Regions from separate parts of the Homo sapiens genome. Here region 1 is linked to region 2. Evidence: promoter capture Hi-C in human tissues and cell types (Jung and others, 2019). All regions are on one chromosome and are shown on one strand. The core of a region is centred on a gene start or on the middle of the fragment in contact, and the rest is flanking DNA. Distances in the headings are between cores, read along the strand shown. Region 1 overlaps RNF220 (ring finger protein 220). Region 2 holds the start of RNF220 (ring finger protein 220).

What was found. Contacts are between HindIII fragments. The study calls those that stand out against the background at their distance.
Region 1: a fragment that was not itself captured here is called in contact with the fragment with the promoter of RNF220 in region 2 in 3 of the 25 tissues and cell types used here (adrenal gland, hippocampus and neural progenitor cells).

The regions. Positions count from the first base shown.
Region 1 is chr1:44,458,363-44,463,763 of GRCh38, reverse strand. All of the region lies in intron 2 of RNF220 (ring finger protein 220), which reads right to left. Among named protein-coding and RNA genes, the nearest start is that of RNF220, 56 kb to the right of the region's middle. The HindIII fragment of the contact is 4,153 bases long and covers 1,100-5,252 here.
Region 2 is chr1:44,403,791-44,409,380 of GRCh38, reverse strand. It overlaps RNF220 (ring finger protein 220), which reads right to left and starts at 4,126. Exons shown (of 15, transcript NM_018150.4): 1 at 3,851-4,126. RefSeq lists enhancers at 268-944, 2,711-3,233. The HindIII fragment of the contact is 10,637 bases long and covers 1-5,590 here.

The DNA of each region.
Region 1 (5,401 bases), core at 1,927-4,426, 55 kb before region 2:
AAACTCAAGTTAGTCTAAAAACAAAGAAAGAGGTCAGGAGACATCTAAAATGTCTACATGGAAGCCAATTATACACCAATTGTCTATAGTTTGGACTCGAGATGATATTGCTTTACAGCCCAAACCACCTAAAGCCAGGCAGATAAGGAGGATATGGGGCAGATTCACATTCTGTGGCATCCGAAGCTTAGCATATGACTTTGAGGACTCTCTTAAAAAAAAAAAGAAACAAAATTACAAATATAAAATTAGGTTCAAAAGTGAGTATTTATTAGAACGACAAATCATTTCACAACAATTACAAAATTTTAAAGGTTGAGGAAAATGAGAAACATCATAAAAATATTCCAATGACATAATTTTAAATTAATTGATACACTTCTAAGTGCTTATTTCCTGTATTTTCTTTCTTTCTTTTTTTTTTTTTTGAGACAGAGTTTTGCTCTTGTTGCCCAGGCTGGAGAGCAATGGTGCGATCTCAGCTAACTGCAGCTTCTGCCTCCCGGGTTGAAACGATTCTTCTGCCTCAGCCTCCCAAGAGCTGGGATTACAGGCATGTGCCACCACACCTGGCTAATTTTGTATTTTTAGTAGAGACGGGGTTTCTCCATGTTGGTCAGGCTGGTCTCAAACTCCCGACCTCAGGTGATCTGCCCGCCTCAGTCTCCCAAAGTGCTGGGATTACAGGCGTGAGCCACTGCGCCCGGCCTTTCTTGTATTTTCTTTTTTTGTTTTTTGAGATGGAGTCTTGCTCTGTGGCCCAGGGTGGAGTGTAGTGGCACAATCTCAGCTCATTGCAAGCTCCGCCTCCTGGGTTCATGCCATTCTCCTGCCTCAGCCTCCTGAGTAGCTGGGACTACAGGCGCCTGCCACCTCACCTGGCTAATTTTTGTATTTTTAGTAGAGACAGGGTCTCACCATGTTAGCCAGGATGGTCTCGATCTCCTGACCTTGTGATCTGCCCACCTCGGCCTCTCAAAGTGCTGGGATTACAGGCGTGAGCCACCGTGCCCGGCCTTTCTTGTATTTTCTAAGCTGTGGACTCTGACTCTTCATGTGAACAATTTTGAAGCATCTATACTTCATTTTTCTATAAAGAAAATAGAAAATCCTGTCTTTTTTCTACCATTGTTGACCAAAATTTGTTTATAACTGATAGCTTAGAGAATTTCTTTCCACTTCAAAACCCCTTACTAGTACTGTTATATAAATGTCAAGGATTAATGTGAAATTTGGGGAAACCTCTATCAAGTTTCTTTCATATAGGAGTTGTAAGATTTCATGGCCTTTCAAATTTTCCTTAATATTCTCAGACTTTATTGATACTCTTTTACAGCTTATTATTGGTGTCCTGGTTATAGCGACATATTATGAGTTTTATGTTACCTTTGGTCAATATTTTGGAGATGTGTATATACTTCACATAAGAATGCACTCATTGTTAGTAGTATTGCTACAGACTTATACACTATAAACACAGGAATTTTAATAAATTCCATTTCATGTGATTCCCATTAAAAAATATATATATGTCCAGGCGTGGTGGCTCACACCTGTAATCCCAGCACTTTGGGAGGCCGAGGCGGGCGGATCACTTGAGCAGGAGTTTGAGATGAGCCTGGCCAACATGGTGATACCACATCTCTACTAAAAATACAAGAAAAAAAAATTAGCCGGGCATAGTGGTGTGCCCCTGTAATCCCAGCTACTTGGGAGGCTGAAGCAGGAGAATCGCTTGAATCTGGGAGATGGAGGTCACAGTGAGCCAAGATGGCACCACTGCACTCCAGCCTGGGCAACAGAGCAAGACTCTGGCTCAAAAAAAAAAAAAAAAAAAAACAAAGAAAAAAGAAAAGAAAAAAATATGATACATTTACAATTGTATACACTGCATTAAGATGTATTCCTGACAGATGCGAGGTTTCATTTTGACCAGCCATTAACAAGAACTAAAATTTTCACTTACAATTTTACATATGTGAGGACTAGTTTCTGGATCCATACATTTTAAGCTTTGTTTCTCTTCCATTGCAGAGCATCATAGGACACATTCATGTCCCCTGACAAGCTCTCATCATGCACCTTCATGGCCTGACCCAGTTAATTAGCATAGTAGGCAGTAGCAGTACTCCTGAGAGCCATTTATATACCAGGACAGGCAGGAGTAAGTTAACTCTACACAGAAGAGACCGCAAACCACATAAACAGATGCATCAACTAAATACAAAATATACTCAAATAAACTAAATATAAAATATACTCCCAACTCTGCTTTTCCTGAAACAGATCACCAAAACATCCACAGCCACTCCAACGCCGCTCCAGGAGGGGAAATATGAACTCAGACGGAAAACAAGAGTCTTAATTTTGATTAAAGTATTTTATTTTTGCAACATGAAAAAATGTAACCATGTAAAAATATCACTAAGGCCTCTTCCAGGGTCTTTAAAGGAGTTCATGCAAGTAAGGGACCTGTAAGTTTAAATTCATTAACTGCATAGAAAATCCACTTCTAGAAGGATAAAAATCCTGGTTTTACCTTTTTCTTGGTGTAGGCACCATCAATAGACAGCATTACCTGTTGCTGGGTATTTTTGCATTAAATATGCAATATTTATTGAGTACTGACTAGGCACCAGACTCTAGGGATACAATAGTGCTGAAATGAATACCGTCCCTGCCCCCGGGAGCTTAAGCTTTAGCTAAGAGAGAGACATCAATCAAAGAGTTATTTAGATGAATGTCCCAGGAAGGTTCCTTCTATGGGGCAGGTCTGTTACACCCAAACCAAACTAATTATTGAGATGTGCTGACAGGGAAGGGGGAAGGCCAGGAATGCAAGGAGTCCCTCAGCAGCGGCAGACCCCTCAGAAGGTCTCCTCTGACCTTGTGGTTCTCCTAGGGTTCAGAATCTGGCCACCGTGTTCCACACGTGTCCCAGTCTGCTCTGCAGCTATATTCAATCTATTCCTCTGGCACTTCAGGCTTAGAATTGCTAGCATGTGAGGCTGTACCAGCACGGCCTCTTTAGCTGGGGAACCCAGGACCCAAAGTCTAGCAGAGGAAACACTGGGCGCTTGTCTGGGGAAGCTAAAAGAGGATCCTGAAGTAAGAAGTGGTTAGTGCAGCTGACCTCCTCTCCCCTAACTAAAAACAGGGAAGTTTTGTGAGAACCCTCAATGAACCCTCAATGATCGAAGAACTCTCCGATCTCCCATTTTACCCTGTTTTTTCCTACCCTTCGCAGAATCAGCCTACTGACATATTTTTTATCTTATTTTTTCAGCCAAACATCTTGAAATAGTTACCTACACCCATTTCCTCCACTTCTCACTTCCAATTTCCTACTGCTCCACAGCAGTCTAGCTTCTGCCAGTGAAACTGCAGGTACCAGGTGTTAGAGGATGTCACTGCCCTACCAGTATCCCCTGCCCTTACTACTTCAGTGAACCCCAGGCTTCCAGGCGCTGGTACCTGCATTCATTCACCTGAGGGATTTCTCTCACAGCCGGGGTCTGTTCTGCTGCCCAAGCAGCAGGCTGGAAATGTCAGTGAATTAATGCCCTCTAAGAACAGCCCTCAACCAATGACCTGAAAGAGCTCCCTCACCCCGTGAGACGAGGAACGATGAGGTGGGTGTTCTGCACTGACTCCCTGAACTTTCCCGTTGGGATTAAGCTATAATTGCCCAGGGTGGCTGCTGGCTTAATTCACCCTTTACTGGCCGTCCCCTCCCTGTTCATCCCCCTCTCCCACACACACCAGTGTTCTTCATCTTTCAAATAGACTAATCCTCGTCTCAGGGTCCACTTTTAGGAAAACTCAAACTAAGCACCAAGATCATCAGTGACTTCCTGACTGTTTCGGTCTTGGTGAATCCATCAGTTAGCAAGTATGCATTGAGAACCTACTAGGTTCTAGGTATTGTCTAATCTGACCTCACCTCTTTAATACACTTGACATCCATAATCACTCCTTCCTGAAGCTCTCCTTCCTTGGATTCAGGCTTCCTTGCATGTGGATATTCCCTCTTTCATCGGCAGTTCCGCTCCACCTACCCCTTACACAGTGGTGTTCCCAGAGTTCTCAGTCCAGCTCTTGCTCTTCCCACTCTACATGCCTTTCTTTGGCCATGTGGTCCACCTGCACAGGATCAAATCTCACTTTTTTGTTCGAAGATCCCCAAATTCCTTTATCTACCCTTACTTCGTCTCCTGGGTTTCAGATTTTGTGTCTGACTACTTTTTGGACATTTTTACCTGGAAGCTACAAAGTTATCTCAAATGCAGTATACCAGTTTTGGGGGGTTTATTAGGGGGGGTTCTGTGTGAGGACAAGTGTGTAAGGAAATTGGGTAGAAGACATTGGCAAGACAGCATTTAAAAGTGGTGGATCATGAGATGTAGGCTCAGTAGGAAAGGAAGTAATTCTGGGAGAAGGCTGAGAGGTTGGGAAGAAATGGAAGCGTCAAAGGCAGTGCTGGATTACTCAATAGATAAACACATTCTTAGGGCATCCAAAAAGCAAAGTGAACCCCCACAACATATTTTTAGAAAAACCTTGAAATTAAAAAAAAACCCACCAAAAGAATCACCATGGTAAAAGTCAGAAATTTATTGAACTTCCTTACACTTATTTTACAAGTTAGAATTGTTTTCATTTTAAATTACATAAGGGAACATTCTCTTTTTTGGTGCTTTGGGACATTAAAGGTCTGGCTTGGATCTAGGCAGTCAATGAGATGAAAGCACAGTTATAACAGGAGCAAGGGAGAGAGGAAGCTGCAAGGTAGAGGCTGTCGTCCAAGAGTGGATGCTCTCTTAACCAGCCTCTTCCCTACTGACTTACTGGGTTAACTAAAACTTTCCATTCCAGCTGTAATATGTTCCAGTTAATGGACACAGTGCTCTGAATGCTCACGGCTGGCAGGCCACTCTTCCACACACATATACTACTTCCACTTTTACCAGCTGAGTGTAAGTCACTGTGATTGTTCCAAAATTTCTTTATTCCTGTGGTAGTAGTTATTACATTTACATAATTTAATTAAACATTATGTAAACCAATCGTGCGAAAAGAAAGAGAACTGTTGTTTCTAAGAACACTAAATCAGATACTTTGGGAAGTTTCATAAAGGTAAATCTCTTTTTTAAATGCTATTGAATTGGGTGTGGGTAAGACAACTAGAAAACAGTTAACATTTATTGAATGTTTACTATGTATCAGGCAGTATATTAAGGCTTTATATAAAATAGCCATTTCATCCTCACAATAACTCTCTGAAGTGGTTACTGAGGAAACTGAGGCACAAAAAGGCTAAGCAACTTACCCAAGTTAGGAAATGGTACATCCAGGATTTGAACCCAGGTGGTCTGGCTTGAGAGACTGTCCTAACCATTAT
Region 2 (5,590 bases), core at 2,877-5,376:
ACAGATTGCAAAAAGTCTTTGTTGAATTAACTAAACAAGGAGGAGGGATCAATCCACGAAGCTAAATAAATTGTCTGGCAGGCAGTGAGGTTGGACGGAGGGACCAACAAATATTGAGTTAAAAAATTTCAAATCCTTGACGTGATGGGTTTGGTTCAGTTCCGTATCTGTGGGAGTTTGTTTGTTTCTTAAATCACACTCCTGACCCTGGTTTAAAGTGATTGCAAAACGCCAGCTATCTGAATAATTAGTGAGATTACTAATTGCGTGGTTAAACACGCCAGAACCAAGACAAATGAAACGAAGACGTCCGCGTTTGGAACGTGAAAATGTCTGAGGCTGGGCTGATGCGCAGCGCTCCGCGCTCTGCGGAGCGAACTAGCCACTTTCGCACAGAAAAACCGAAAGCCCAAGAGAAAGTCTCAGAGAGTAGGTAATCTCCCATCCCAGTCCAAGGTCTGGGCTTCCTGACCTGCGCCCGGGATCGGCATAGAAGGAAGCGGTGCTGCTGCCCCCTCTGCCTCCGCCGTAGCTGAGAGCCAAACCCCTTTGCAAATGACTGCCACAAAGAAAGCTGCAAAGGGCTCTTTCCCGGAGCCGAGCTCAGGGCGCCCACCAAACTACGGCTCTGCTGGCAATTAAAATGCACACACAACACTCCTCTGCTTATTACAACAGGTGACAGTTTTGTGGTCTCTGAACCGTTTCCAAAAGCCAGGAATTAAAATAATAGAACAAATTAAACGATATTTTTCCTTTGCATAAATAAACTTTTAAAAAAATTAACAAGGAACTTAAAAAGCAAAGAACAATGGGAAATGAGGCAGAGTAGTGGGGGGTTGTTAAGAACGCAGGAAAAAAATTTTTTTTTTAAGTTCACAGACTTCTTCGCTTGAAGAGAATTCCCGCACACCAAATGCCCAGGGGGTATTTGGAAACACCGCTCTAACAGAAATTTTACCACCATATGCGAGAGCTCAGGGAACATAAGGCTAACACAGTTCCCGGGCTAGGGCCGACGCCTGTGTTTCAGGCATGGCCGGGTATGGTCCCAGATTTGGACCCGGGTTCAGGCCCAGCTTGGCCAAAGGGTGCGAATCCGAGACAGCCCGGGCCAGTCCGAGAGTGCGGGGTCGCGGGATACTGGCTCAGCGAGCGGGTGCATTATTCAGCTCGGAAGAGTCTCGACTGGGAAAAAAAATCAACTCTTTTAGGGAAAACGGGGGAAGAAGAGGTGAAGGCGAAACCTACATAAACTTGGGCCCAACGCGGAGCCGAGCCCACTACTCTTTGGCCCGACCTCTCCCTCCGGCTCTCGGTTGCCTTTGTATATAGAATACTCTGGGTCCCAACAACCTCCGCACGAAACAATCTGCGCCCAACTTTGGGCAACCAAAGCGCCAGTCCAGGAAGAACCGACACGTGCAAGGGCCCCTGGTCCGCAGCCGCGCGGGGCCCGCGGGGCAGGGGCTCAGAGCTGCCAGCCTTCGACCAAAGTCCAAGGACCTCCAGCCCCCGAGCAGCCCCGCCCCGGGGGTCACCCGGGTCCCGCCGCCGCGCGCACCACCGCTTCAGCGGGCAGCCGCGGACTCCTCCACTCCCGCTTCTCCTGCAAATACGGACCGGCGCGGGGCTGCCGGGCCCTTCCAGCTCCTGGACTGCGGATGCGCAGTGCGGGAGGGAGGGTTCTGCGGCCCGCACCGCGGCCGTCCGGCCGCCGCACACCGCGCGGCTCGCAGAACAGGTGTGTGTCCCCGCTCGCTCCGCGCCCGGCCCCGGCCCTGTCGGCCACCAGCGGCGCGACGCGGCGCCGCCCCGTCCTCGGCCTTCCCCAGCCTTGCCTCGAAGCGCAGCAAGCGAACTCACGCCACTTTTGCCGGGTCTCTGCGGGCCAGGAGGGATCGGCACGGAAGACGCCAGCACCGCTCTTCCTCGACGCTCTTTCTGCCTTTCCCCCCTCTGCTCATTCCCCTTTGCAGGAAGAGCCCGCGAGACGGAAAGAGGAGGCCAGGCAAGGCAAAGCCCCCCTGCCCACTCTGCTCCCCCCAGTCCCCTCGCTGCTTCCTCACTGCCGCCCTTTTTTTTCTTTATTTTTCCTTTCTCTCCCCTTTGCCCCTCAAGCCGAGTCCGGAGCGGAGGCGAGAGGCAAGATGTGGCTGCTGGGCGTCGTGGGCAGCGAGTGCGGTGCTCTCCCCCTCGGCGGCTCCCGGGCCAGTGGGCCGGCGCAGACCCCAGACGACCCGGGCCGGCCAGGTAGGGCTGTGCCCCCACACCTATGGCCCGGGCCCCATGCACCCACCCAGTGCGACGCGCGCCTGGCTCAGGGCCGGAACACGGGCTCTCCGCTGGAGCTGCATCCACGACCCGAGAATGCAGGGTGTGCTTAACGGGAAGCGAGAGCTTTCCCCCTGCCTCCTGGCTGCCCTAGTCCCCGCTACTTCGGGACTCCTGCGCGCCCTCGCCAGCTGGGGTCGACCTGGGCCGCGAGCTCTCGGAGAGGCTCCTGGACTGGGGGATGAACCGGGCATCCCCTCGGATGGCCTCACCACCGTGGGCGGCCTCGCCCGGGGGGCCACACGGAAGCTCTCCGCCCAAGTTTGTTGTGCCCTGGAAGAAAAGGCTTTCTCTTACAAAGCACAAAGGCGAAACGCCCAGGCCGAGCCCTGAAAAGCCCCGGGTTGGGGGGCGGGGGTGGGGTGGGGGAGGCCGGAGGCTCCGGAGTGCGGTGGCGGGGCTGGGTTCCGGGCAGAGAAGGTCGCTCGGCCCGGGCTGACAAGCGCGGCGGCAGTGGCCGCAGGACCGCAGCGACCGGCGTGCTCACTGAAAAGTTTTGTTCTTAAGTCAGAAGAGAAATTGTTACTCAGTTTAAGGCAGGTCTAAGATAAAAATAAAACTACAAGTAGAGTAGTCAAGTAGCCCTCGTCTCCACGATCGTCCTCCCGCCTTGCTCAGTAGAACCGCTGGGAGAGGGGGTCCCGACCCCGAAAATCCCGGGAGATCCCACGTGTCGGGCTACTCTACGGCCAGGCCGGTCCAGCCCAGAGGAGTGGGGAGTTTACCGGTGGCGTTTAGAACGGTCCGCCTCTATGCTAGCACCTGCCTCCTTCCTGCCCGCAGAGGATCCATCCATCCTACCCCACCTCCCTCCCTCCACACCCTTCACACCCGCCCCCGCTAGGAAAAAGTCAGCCGAGCACCCGGGGTCCAGGGCTAAACAGCCACTCCCCGGGTATCCCGCGGAGCCGGCTGTGTGTGGGGTGGAGGCTGTCGGGGTAGTTTCTCATTCGGCTCGCCCCTTCTCCATCCGCCCGCCGCCTCGGGCTCCCCACTGAGTACCACCCAGCCCTGGCCTCGCCGGAAATCAACGCGGGGTACATAGGGGAGCCCGGAAATCACCGGGGGGTGCACCAGAGAGCCCGGCGAGAAGGCATTCTCGATATCGACCCGAACAAAGTGGGAATGGGGCTTATTAAGAGACGGAGAAAAGAAGTCCTGCTCCCTTCCCTTGCAGTGCCCTCACCCTCCCAACTTGTCCAATTCCCGCGTCTGGTCCCTCCCCCTTGCACCTCCCCCCCTCCCCAAATAAAACACATTAAGGAAAACTCAAGACGGAAAGTTTGAGCGAGGCAGCGCACGGAGCGCGCAGGGCGCCGATGCCGAGAGGCTCCGTCGCGATGATCCAAGACGCGCCAGTCCGAGTCCCAGTCCCTGCCCCCGTCCAGAGGGAACCGCCCGAATCCCTAGGAAACGGACCCGGAAAGTTAGCCAGGTTCCTGAACAAGCCGGCCGCCCTCGCACCCACCCCTCTTGGGTACGCACACACGTCCACACCCCTTTCTGATCTCCATACTTGCCGTGGAAATTCCTTGGGAGAACGGTCGCACTTTTCAGGACACGGAGGGAAGCAGGCGGAGAGTGTGGTGCATGAAAAGTCCCGGGTTCGCAGAGCCGGCGGAGGCAGCGGCGGCGGCGGCGGCGGCAGCGGCAGCAGCAGCAGCAGCAGTAGGCGGCTGGCCCCGGGTTTGTGTTCGCGAGCTGCCTGGGATTGCATGTACAGATCAAGAGACTCAGTTGGCGTGAGAGAAGGAGCAGTGCTGCCTCTCAGCGCTGGATCTAATCAGTGAATGAGCCTCCACTCTCCCAGGGACTCGGAGACACACACACGCGCGCACACACACACGCACGCACACATTCTCTCACACTCACACACATACAGGCACTCTGAGCACTGAATACATTAGGGCACTAAGGGACTCTGGGAAATGAAGTCCAGACCCAGGGCACTCCTGGAGAACAGACCTGCTGGCCCTCACCAAAGAGCTTGGAAGTCTTGGGGTCGCGAGCCATTGTGAACTAAAGAGAGCGTTGGCTTTTGTTTACATCCCTCCTCCCCCACCCGCAAAGGTCTCAGTGAATGGTTTCGTGCTTGTTGTTCTTCCTTTCCTGAACCAAAAGGGACCAAGAGTAAATGGGCAAAGCTTGAAGACTGACATCCACTGCTGCTTAAATGACCCCCAAATCCTGGGTCCCTCAAAATCTCTGTCTTTTCCCAGAAAAATCTTACCTGCTGCTTTGTTCCTGGAATGCTTCTCTGGGTCTTTGACTATAATAATAAATAATAAATGAATATTAATAAAACTGTAACTTTTGGAGGAGGTGAAGGCCTAGTATAGCATCCAGATGTGAGAATAAAATTTTTTATTGGTGTTTTATTGATGTTTATATTACAGTTCATTTCAGATCATTTCATATCATCCTATAATTCATCAAACACAAAGATAAACAGGGGAAATGGATAGAGAACTAACATTCCTGAGTGCTTTCTAGGAGCCCGGTTATGAGACTAAATGCCTTTACATAATTTCATTTACTCCTAAGATTAATTCTGGAGATAATAATATTACCACTAGTTTATAGAAGAGGAAACTGGGGTTGAAAGGGTTTTGTAATTTGCCCATGAAAACGTGGTTAACAAGTCTTGGATAGCAGGTAGTTCTAGTTCTGAAAGCAAAGTTCAACCAAAATCAAATCCTGGTTTAAGAAGTCATTCCTGGCCGGGCGCGGTGGCTCACGCCTGCAATGCCAACACTTTGGGAGGCCGAGGCGGGCGGAACAAGAGGTCAGGAGTTCAAGACCAGCCTGACAAACATGGTGAAACCCTGTCTCTACTAAAAATACAAAAAGTAGCCGGGCGTGGTGGCATGCGCCTGTAATCCCAGCTACTCAGGAGGCCAAGGCAGGAGAATCGCTTGAACCCGGGAGGCGGAAGTTGCAGTGAGCCGAGATCACACCATTGCACTCCAGCCTGGGTGACAAAAAAAAAAAAAAAAAAAAAAGTCATTCTTTTGTTTTGTAGTTAAGTGTCTAAAACCTCAGATTTCTCATCTGGAAAAAAAAAAGGGAGGGTGGGGAGAAATGGAGTACACACTGATAATCCACTTTACAGAGAACCACATAGGATTATAAATTGTCTAAAAAGAATGAGACTCAAAATCTCATTCTTGCTATTATTTCATTGTCCTTTTTACTTATGTTTAACATTAAGGTAGCATCTAAATATTAAGTATGTTTATGTATATGTGTGCTGTTG